Linked DNA regions of Homo sapiens: region 1 is linked to region 2. The links are contacts of gene promoters, found by promoter capture Hi-C in human tissues and cell types (Jung and others, 2019). All regions are on one chromosome and are shown on one strand. Each heading gives the region's core, a stretch centred on a gene start or on the middle of the fragment in contact. The rest is flanking DNA. Distances are from core to core; before and after follow the strand shown. Region 1 overlaps LOC101927495 (a long non-coding RNA gene). Region 2 holds the start of LRRC10B (leucine rich repeat containing 10B).

Evidence for each region. Contacts are between HindIII fragments. The study calls those that stand out against the background at their distance.
Region 1: a contact is called between a fragment that was not itself captured here and the fragment with the promoter of LRRC10B in region 2, in 2 of the 25 tissues and cell types used here (H1 embryonic stem cells and mesenchymal stem cells).

Annotation. Positions count from the first base shown.
Region 1 is chr11:61,597,717-61,602,189 of GRCh38, forward strand. The region is part of intron 2 of LOC101927495 (a long non-coding RNA gene); the gene reads left to right. Among named protein-coding and RNA genes, the nearest start is that of SYT7, 19 kb to the left of the region's middle. RefSeq lists enhancers at 1,643-2,310, 2,979-3,646. The HindIII fragment of the contact is 6,468 bases long and covers 1-4,473 here.
Region 2 is chr11:61,505,569-61,510,022 of GRCh38, forward strand. It overlaps LRRC10B (leucine rich repeat containing 10B), which reads left to right and starts at 3,181. Exons shown (of 1, transcript NM_001145077.2): 1 at 3,181-4,454. The coding sequence starts at 3,431. The coding sequence ends at 4,309. It overlaps MIR4488 (microRNA 4488), which reads left to right and starts at 3,028; the gene lies at 3,028-3,089. It overlaps LOC105369329 (a long non-coding RNA gene), which reads left to right. Exons shown (of 3, transcript NR_188527.1): 3 at 194-1,081. The HindIII fragment of the contact is 12,437 bases long and covers 1-4,454 here.

The DNA of each region.
Region 1 (4,473 bases), core at 1,152-3,651, 91 kb after region 2:
TTTCCCCATGCCTAGTCTCTGAGTCCTCAGCCCCACCATGAAGGCTGTTTTCTTTCCCCGTTCCCCTCCAGCCAGTGAGGTGGAGGTGGGAGTAGGGGGAGAAAATATAGGGGAGCAGCCAGAGGATCACGACAGGTAGGGCTGGGGGTTGGCAAGGGCTCTGCAGAGACCACGCTCCCCTGGAAAGGCATTTCTCATCGTGGGCATGCCTGCCAGGTAGTGGGAGGACCATTTCTTTCTTTTCTTTTTTTGTCATCATCCAACGTGGCTGGGAGTGAGGGGGCTGAGGGAGAAAGTCTCCTGAGATGGGAGAGAAGCCAGGGGTCTGCGGCTGGCCTGGGCTCAGATTGGTGGGCAATAGCATTCAGTGTCTCCCCCACCCCACTTCCCCCTGCAGACCCAGGCCCAATCCGGGCTGCACCCCTAGCGAGGCAAGGGAAGGGCTGGGCCTTCTCTTCTCTCCTCCAGGTCTCTCGTAAGAATGACATAGGAGCATAAGTGCCCCACCCCATTTGACAGATGAGGCTGAGGCTCAGAGCAGAGAAGTGACGGGCAGGTTAGGTGCATGTGGTAAGTGACCAGCCATCTGGGAGTTATCGGGCCTCTTCCGGCAGGAATAGGGGTCTGGGAAGCCCACCCAGTGGGAGATAACTATCTGTCCTCCTTTCTTAGTGGGGTGGGGAAAAGGCAGTCAATAGAAGAAGAAAAGAGGCCAGCCTGACTCCTGCGAGTTCCCAGAATCTATGTGCTGTCTCCAGACTCCAGAACTCTGCCTGGGTGCTCCCACTTTCTGGAACTGCTTCCCCTATCTGGCTAACTCTTACTCGTTCTTCAAGTCTCAGTTTAGATGTTGCCTCTTCCAGGAAGCCTTCCCTTATTTCCCCAGGATTAGGTAGCACTGCTGTGTGCTCCCACTGCTCCCAGGGTTTCCCCCATTAGGGCATGAATCACCTGCTTTGTCGTATTTCTCCTCCTCAGACAGGGAGCTCTTTGAGGGTAAGGCTGTGCCTTGTCAGCCTCTAATATCTATCCCCAGACCCAGTGTGGAGCTGAATACAAAGCTGGCCCAAAGAGCTGTTTGTTGAATTGGTGAGTGACTGAATGGGCATCTATAAAGATCAACTATTTGTCAGTCCTGTGCAGGGGGGTCCAATGTAAAGGAGGCCCCCACCCCCCTGCAGTACCCACCTGTGCAATGGCCCAGGACGCCTTCTGGACAGAGCCTGGACAAGGCGAGGTGAGCTTAGAGAAGGGAAAGATAGCTTTGGAGTAGGGATACTGGGAAGCTCTGGGAAGAGGTCCAAGAGTCTTGGTATGACAAATTGTTTGGGGCAGGTTTAGGGCTGGGGGCTGGTTTAGTGACCTCAGAAGAGGCTGCTTTATCCAGAGCCCAGGACTGTGCCTAGGAATGGACCAGTGAGGGGGCCGGCTGAACAGGGAAGCTGAGTCACGTTCTGGAGAGCCATTTCCAGGTGAAACCAGAAAGGGCAAGCGTCATGCTCAAGGCAACACAAGTGGGCCACAGCTCCCAGCCAGGGCTCTGTGCCACCCATGCCCCGCTTCTGCCCCCTGGCAGCGCCCTGGCTCTGAGTGAACAAGCTGCCCCAGTCCCTGGGGATGCACGCAAACCAGGAGGAGGTGACAATAAGGGCTTATCAAATGGCTTGTAGGAGGCAGCCACAAATTTCAGCGGCTGTGTAATGTGGGTCTAATGTTCACTTAGCAGAGCGACAGCCTGAAAAGTCGGTGCCCGCGCTCTGTCCCTGCTGCGGCCGAGGCTGTTGAAGCCACAGAAAGCGAGTCACTCAGCAGACATCAAGCTCTGCGCTGGGGCTGGTGTAGGTGGGGTGTGGGGCTGTAAGAAGTCTGAGTTTCCAGACGCCAGACCATACTGGCGGCCCCAGCTGGCTGCTCCTGGGGGAGGAAAGGAAGCTACATTTTTGGTCTTGGAAAGGCCAAAAGCCCGGAGTCAGAGCTGCCCATCTACAGACGGGGAGGGGAGGAGGCGTAGCCCTGGGGAACCCACCGCTGAGTGACTTGTTTTCGCTTTCCTCACGAGCCTCTGCTGTTTCTCTGAGTGCCCTGGGATCCCTCCTCTGAGGGGCAGGAGGGGAGGGGTCCTGCCCTGAGCCAGCCCCCAACTACCTACCCTGGAAATGAGTCCCCACCTGGGCCACATGGGGAGGGACTGAGCTCAGGGCTTTACTGAAGGTCAAAGCCTCTCCTTTCTGAAGTCCAAAGAGGCATCCTCACCTCTGAGCCCACCCACAGGGCCTGGGGGTCTGCCTCTGCCCCGTCTTCCTGTGCGACTCCAGGCAACTCCTCAGCCCTTTCTGGGCCTCAGTTTCCCCATCTGTTAAGTGGCTGGAAAGGTCTCCAAGCTCGTCCTTCTTCAGAATCTTGTGAATGATGCATAAGGCAGCTGCCCACACCCTCCCTGGCCCTGCTCTGCTTTTCTGTCCTGCGCGGCATGGGGTCTTTGTTTTGTTCATGGCAGTACCTGCAGCCCTGGAGCAGTCCCTGTTGCATAGTAGGTGCTCAGTAAATACTGGTGGTTTTTAAACTCCCAGAAGCCACCCAACCTCCTCGCTGCAGGTCCCTTCCTCTTGGAAGGGTTTCTGATTCATCCCCTTCTCATTCTCCAGGTTCTGTTTTGTCCCCTCCTAGGCTGGGCTGCATTACAGACTCCTGTGCACGTGTTGGTATGCAAATCTGGAAGCCTCCCCCCTGTTTCTATTCCACCTTCTCCTTTCCATCGTGGGTGCGTGGGAGCCATGTCTTCTTTTAGATCCCCCTGGCGCGGCTAGGATGAGTGCCAGGGCCTTGGTGGTACAGCCAGTGCTCCATAGAGCTGTTTACAGCCTGCCAGTGATTCACCCACAACAACTGAGAGAAGGCTCTGCCCAGGCGGGGCCGAGGCCCAGGGGAAGCAAGGGAGACCATGTCTTCAAAGCCCACTGGGATCTGGAAATAGGGGCCTGAAAGACCTCTCAGAATAGCTTTGGCCTAGGAGAACAGGGATTGGGATGTGGGGGTCCAAGCTGGGCCAGGATTGAGAGAATTTGTTCTGGCTCAAGCCTACTGATTCATTCATGTCCAAGCCTTTTTCAGCATCTCTCCCTGGGCACCTTGGGCTGACAGCTGGGGGCTCTGCAATGAACCAACCTGAGTCTGGGGCTTCAGAAGCTTGTAGGGTGATGGAAAGGGGGCTGGGCATCATGAGCCACAATAGAGACAGCCACGGGTGACGTGCAGGTGCAGCCAAGGTTGTCATTCATTCAGTGGGCTGAGGCTTCATCGAGGAAGGGCTGTCCTAGCAGAAGAAACAGCACATGCCAGGACACAGAGGCCACGCCCAGCAGTGAGTGGTTGGATGCGAGGCCTGCCTTCCTGTTCTACATGGCTCTGGCCACCCCTCTGGTTTTTTTTATCTGTAAAAGTGGAGGTGGTAGCCAGGCATGGTGGCTTATGCCAGTAATCCCAGCACTTTGGGAGGCCGAGGCGGGTGGATCACCTGAGGTCGGGAGGCCGAGGCGGGCAGATCACCTGAGGTCAGGAGTTCGAGACCAGCCTGGCCAACATGGCAAAACCCCGTCTCTACTAAAAATACAAAAATTAGCCGGGAGTGGTGGCACATGCCCCTGTAATCCCAGTTACTCGGGAGGCTGAGGCAGCAGAATCGCTTGAACCCAGGAGGTGGAGGTTGCAGTGAGTCAAGATCACTCCACTGGACTCTAACCTGGGCAACAGAGCGAGACTCTGTCTCAAAAAAAAAAAAAATGATGGAGGTGGTGTTGCTTGAGTAGGGGGTTAGAGGTTGTCCTAAAAGTTTCCCATGGGCCTCTCCAGCTCTGACACGGGGATTCTGTGGGAGTGAGAGGAGGCGAGCTGCTGACAGGGCAGGGATCTGGGTGACAGTGAAGTCCTGGTGGCTGGGCAGGGAGGACAAACAGAGCTGTCTGTTTAGGCAAGGAGGGGAGCTGGGAGGAGGACACTGCCAGCCAGTTGGACTGTCTCTCCAGGCCTAGTGTTTGCCGATGGAATAAGGGAGTCAGGTGTGTCAACAGTGGGGAATGAGGTGGCTCTGCACTACACACACACGGGCTGTCCCTGGACTAGGCCATCAAGAGGGCCATGTAGGACACTGGCTGGTGGGAGCCCATGGAGCCCAGTGCACTTGCCCATTGGGTGCTCAGATGGCTCAGCCCAGGCCGCATCTCTCTCCAGGCCTCTTCCCCTGTCTCTCTGGCTCAGCTTGAGGAAAGGGGCAGGGGCGTGACCCATCCCACTCTGGGAGGGGAGAGAGCCTCCCACCTGCTCCTGACCTCTCCGGGCTTGCTCCCCTGGGGACATCCCACCACATGAGTTCTAGTCTTGACTCTGCCACCAACTTGATGAGTGACCCTGGGAGTCCCTTCCCTCTTTCAACTTCAATTTCATTACCTGAAAATGAGAGGCTGGGAGAGAGGTTTA
Region 2 (4,454 bases), core at 1,931-4,430:
AATACAGAGTTGGGGGTGGGCACTAATAGTTATAGCTCATGATTAGTAACAGAGAGGCAGTTTCTGGGGCCCTGGGGGACCTGCACTTTGGGTGTTTTTGCAGTGTGTGTGGGGGCAGAGGGGCTGGCCAGGGTCTGGGACCCATGCCTGGAGCTGACAGAGTCCTCTCTCCTCCCCTGCTTCCCCCTCCCAGGTCTCAGTTTCCTGCCTTCCTGGGAAGTGGGGAAAGGCTGAGAGGCCCCGTGCTGGGGGTGAAGCTAATTCATTAGTTACGCCTCAACAAGGACCGGGTGCCTGCAGTGCCAGCGTGATTCATCATGATGATTGCCCCACTGCCAGCCTGCGTGGGCCTGGAACGCCAGCACATTTTACCTTTACCCACTGAGAAGGGCCTGGTGGGAGGTGAAGGTACAGGATCTGCCGAGAGCAAGAAAAAGACTCTGAGAAAGAAGAGGGCTGGTCCTCCATGCTCTCGGCCCCAGGAAGCTCTGCCAGGCTGGTGCCGGGGTGGAGAGGCTCATGTGGGCTCATGTGGTGCTGCCTGTGCTGATGGAGCCCAAGAGGGCAGCCTGGCGCTGGGTGCCAGCCTGAGCATGTGGCGAGGCTGGGCTGCTGAGCCTCCTCCTCCACAGCCAATGTTCCCTCAAACTGCTTGGGGGTGGGGGGAGGGACTCATCCTCATCCCATTAGCCTGGCTGGGTATTCCCTACCTTTCTGGTCTCTGAGAGACTTACCTCTTCCAAGAAGTCCTCCCGAATGAGTAGAAGGGAGAGAGCTGGATTGGAACTTAAGTGACATCTGGGAGGAGCCTGAAGCCCCTCCGGTTGGGGCTGAGACTCCTATACCCTAGGTCTGGTGTCTGGGTTCCACCTGGGTCCTCTACCTTGGCCTGGATTCCTGCTTTCGTTTTGCCAGTCTCTCCCAGGATGGGGGTGCATGGCTGGTTCGTGGCTCAGAGCAACATCTGCCTCTGTGTCCCCCCATCATCTGTCCGCCCCCTAACACCTCTTGCCATATTAGAATTGCTATTGCTCTGTCCTTTCATTCATGTATCCAACAAATATATATTATCTGAAAAAAAGCATGTGCTGAATAATTTCATTTGTGTGAAATTCAAGAACAGGGAAAACTGATCCATAAGGATAGAGGTCAGGATCATAGTTGCCTCTGTGAGGTGGGGATTGACCGCAAGAGGCTTGAGAGAACTCTTGGGTTGATGGAAATGGGACAGGGGTGTGTACATTTGTCAAAACGCATCCAAGAAGACACTTACGATCTATGCATTTCACTGTATGCAATGTTTGCCTCCACTTTTTTTGTTAAGTTTTTTTCAGCAAGGCGCAGTGGCTCATGCCTATAATTCCAGCACTTTGGGAGGCTGAGGCAGGTGGATCACCTGAGATCAGGAGTTCGAGACCAGCCTGACCAACATGGTGAACCCCTGTCTCTTCTAAAATACAAAAATTAGCTGGGCGTGGTGGTGGGCACCTGTAATCTCAGCTACTTGGGAGGCTGAGGCAAGAGAATCGCTTGAACCCAGGAGGCGAGGCGGAGGTTGCAGTGAGCCAAGATCACGCCATTGCACTCCAACCTATGCAACAAGAGCAAAACTCTGTCTCTAAATAAATAAATAAATAAATAAATAAATAAATAAATAAATAAAAATTTGCATGGAATGTCTACTGTATGCTCTAGAGCCTGTGCCAGCAGGGAAGGAGATGCCCAAACCTCCCTGGCTGGGCAGCTTACTTTCCAGTGGGGATGGTTCCCTTCCTCCCGTTGCATTGGCAACTGCTCTCTGCCCTTGGGCTGTCTTCCATCCCCCTTCCCCTGCAGTGGGGATGGCAATGGGGGTGGGCCAAAGGGCAGCGTGCTCTCCTGAAGTCAGTCCACTCAGCCAGTTACATGGGTCACACCAGCCGGGTTCAAGAGAAGGCAGGAGGCAGGAGGCTTGGAGCCCGAAAATTTGGCTCCCGGGCTGCAACCTCTATGCATTGTGTGACCGTAAGCAGGGTGCCTAATCCCCGCGAGGCCACTTCTCTCATCTTTCATGTGGGATTATAGTGCTGTCTTTGTAGCTTTGTCCAGAGAATCAGAGGCTCTGTTGTGAGAAAATTCATTGCTGGAGGTGGAGTGAACCTTGTTTCCATCTATCGGTATGGTTTATGGTTAGGAACACAGGCTCTGGAGTCACACTACCTGGCTTCGAATCCAGCTGCTCATCAGCTGGGTGACCTTGGGCACTTCACTCAGCTCAGACTGACCCAGCTCAAGTCATGTCTCTTTGACCCTCAGTTTCTCCATCTTTAAAATCGGGGTGATGAGGGTGTCTACCTCATAGGCTGTGCCAAGGACTCAACGCAATGCTTTCAGCATAGTGCTGGGCACACGTGGGCTCGAAGCCAGTGACAGCCAGTGCTTTTCTGCCAGGAGCTCCCGCAGGAGGGCTCCGGATGGGAGGTGGGGGGAGAAGGCAGGGGGGAACTGCTGCTGGTGGTAGCAGGCGAAGGAAGAAGAGTCATGGAATGAGAGTGGCCATGATTGGTGGCTCAAAGGCGTTCACGTGTCCCAGTCCTCTGTCCACCGCAGCCACACACAGACTTTGAGCGTCGGTGGAGGGATCCTGGCAGGAGAGAGGGGTGTGAGTGTAGCAATGAGGAAGCTGTAGGGCAATTAGGCGGGGCGGAGCCAAGCCCTGGGGCCCGGTAAAACCAGCAGATGTGAAAAGGGCCGGACAGTAACACTGTTTCGAGTTACTACACTGAAGTGATCCCAGCAGGTAGGCCGGCCGCACGCCGCTGGACGTGAATGGCTCGCAGTGACCGCGCCCCTCAGCCCCTCCTTGTGAGCCTCTAGTCCAGAGTCTTTGATCCACCGCCAGCGTTTCCTTCGCCTTCTTGGACCCGCGGCTCTGGGGCGCACACAACCGCACACCAAACAGCGTCGGGCGTCGGGTCTCAGTGCCAGGCTTGGCCGGGGCGGGGAATCTCTCGGCTTGTGCTTGCTCCGCGGTGGGCTGGATGGGCAGGTAGGGGGCGGGCTCCGGCGCTGGGACCCCACTAGGGTGGCGCCTTGGCCCCGCCCCGCCCCGCCCTCCCTCCGCCTCATTGGCAGCCGCACGCGCGTCGGGGTTGCCAGGGCGACGGGTCGCTAAGCTGCGAGTCAGCGCGAACCCTAGCCAGTCGGCCTCCGGCGGAGGCAACGGGGGAGGCCCGAGGGCGGGCGGTGGAGCGCGGCGCGCGGCGGCGGTGCCCCAAGTGGGTGCCTCCTCCCGGCCCCGCACGGCCCCCCTCCCGGCGCGGGGGAAGGCCGGGGCGGGGGGCCCGGGGGCCGGCGCGGCTCCGGCACCGTCGGGGCGGCTGGGGGGCGGCCGGGGCGGGGCGATGCCTGGCGGTGGCAGTGGCGGCGGCCCCGGCCGGGGCCCGTGACCATGGGCATCGCCGAGTCCACGCCGGATGAGCTGCCGTCGGACGCAGAGGAGCAGCTGCGCAGCGGCGACCAGCAGCTGGAGCTGAGCGGGCGGCGGTTGCGGCGGCTGCCCAGCGCAGTGTGCGCGCTGAGCCGCCTGCAGAAGCTGTATGTGAGCGGCACGGGGCTGCGCGAGCTGCCGGAGGAGATCGAGGAGCTGCGCGAGCTGCGCATCCTGGCGCTGGACTTCAACAAGCTCGAGCGACTGCCTGACGGCCTGTGCCGCCTGCCGCGCCTCACGCGCCTCTATCTGGGCGGCAACCGGCTGCTGGCGCTGCCCGCCGACTTCGCGCAGTTGCAGAGCCTGCGCTGCCTCTGGATCGAGGGCAACTTCTTGCGGCGCTTCCCGCGGCCGCTGCTGCGCCTGGTGGCGCTGCAGTCGCTCCAGATGGGCGACAACCGGCTGCGCGCGCTGCCGGCCGAGCTGCCGCGCATGACGGGCTTGCGCGGCCTCTGGCTCTACGGCAACCGCTTCGAGGAGTTCCCGCCCGCGCTGCTGCGCATGGGCCGCCTGCACATCCTCGACCTCGACCGCAACCGCCTGGGCGGCTTCCCCGACCTGCACCCGCTGCGCGCGCTGCGCGTCTTCTCCTACGACCACAACCCCGTCACCGGGCCCCCGCGCGTCGCGGACACCGTGTTCCTCGTGGGCGAGGGCGCCGTCGAGCGCATGGCGGAGCGCGACGAGCCCACGCCCCGGCCTCCGCCCCGGCGCCCAGCGCGGGCCTTTGAGGATGAGGAGGAGGAAGACCTGCTCATAGGCGGCGCTGGTTCCCGGGCTCTGGGCGCCCCCGGGGGCAGCTTCCGCGCCCTGGAAGCCGCTCCAGGACTGGGCACCTGAGCCTATGTTCTGGCTGATGGGCTTCAGCCACTCTGAGAGGAGGGGCTCTAGGAAGCTTTGGCTGGTTAGGCCTGCGGGACTGGTGGGTCCCTACTTAGGTCAATGGAACGGCTACTTTTGGCGAGTTGCCGGGCACAGGCAGGGC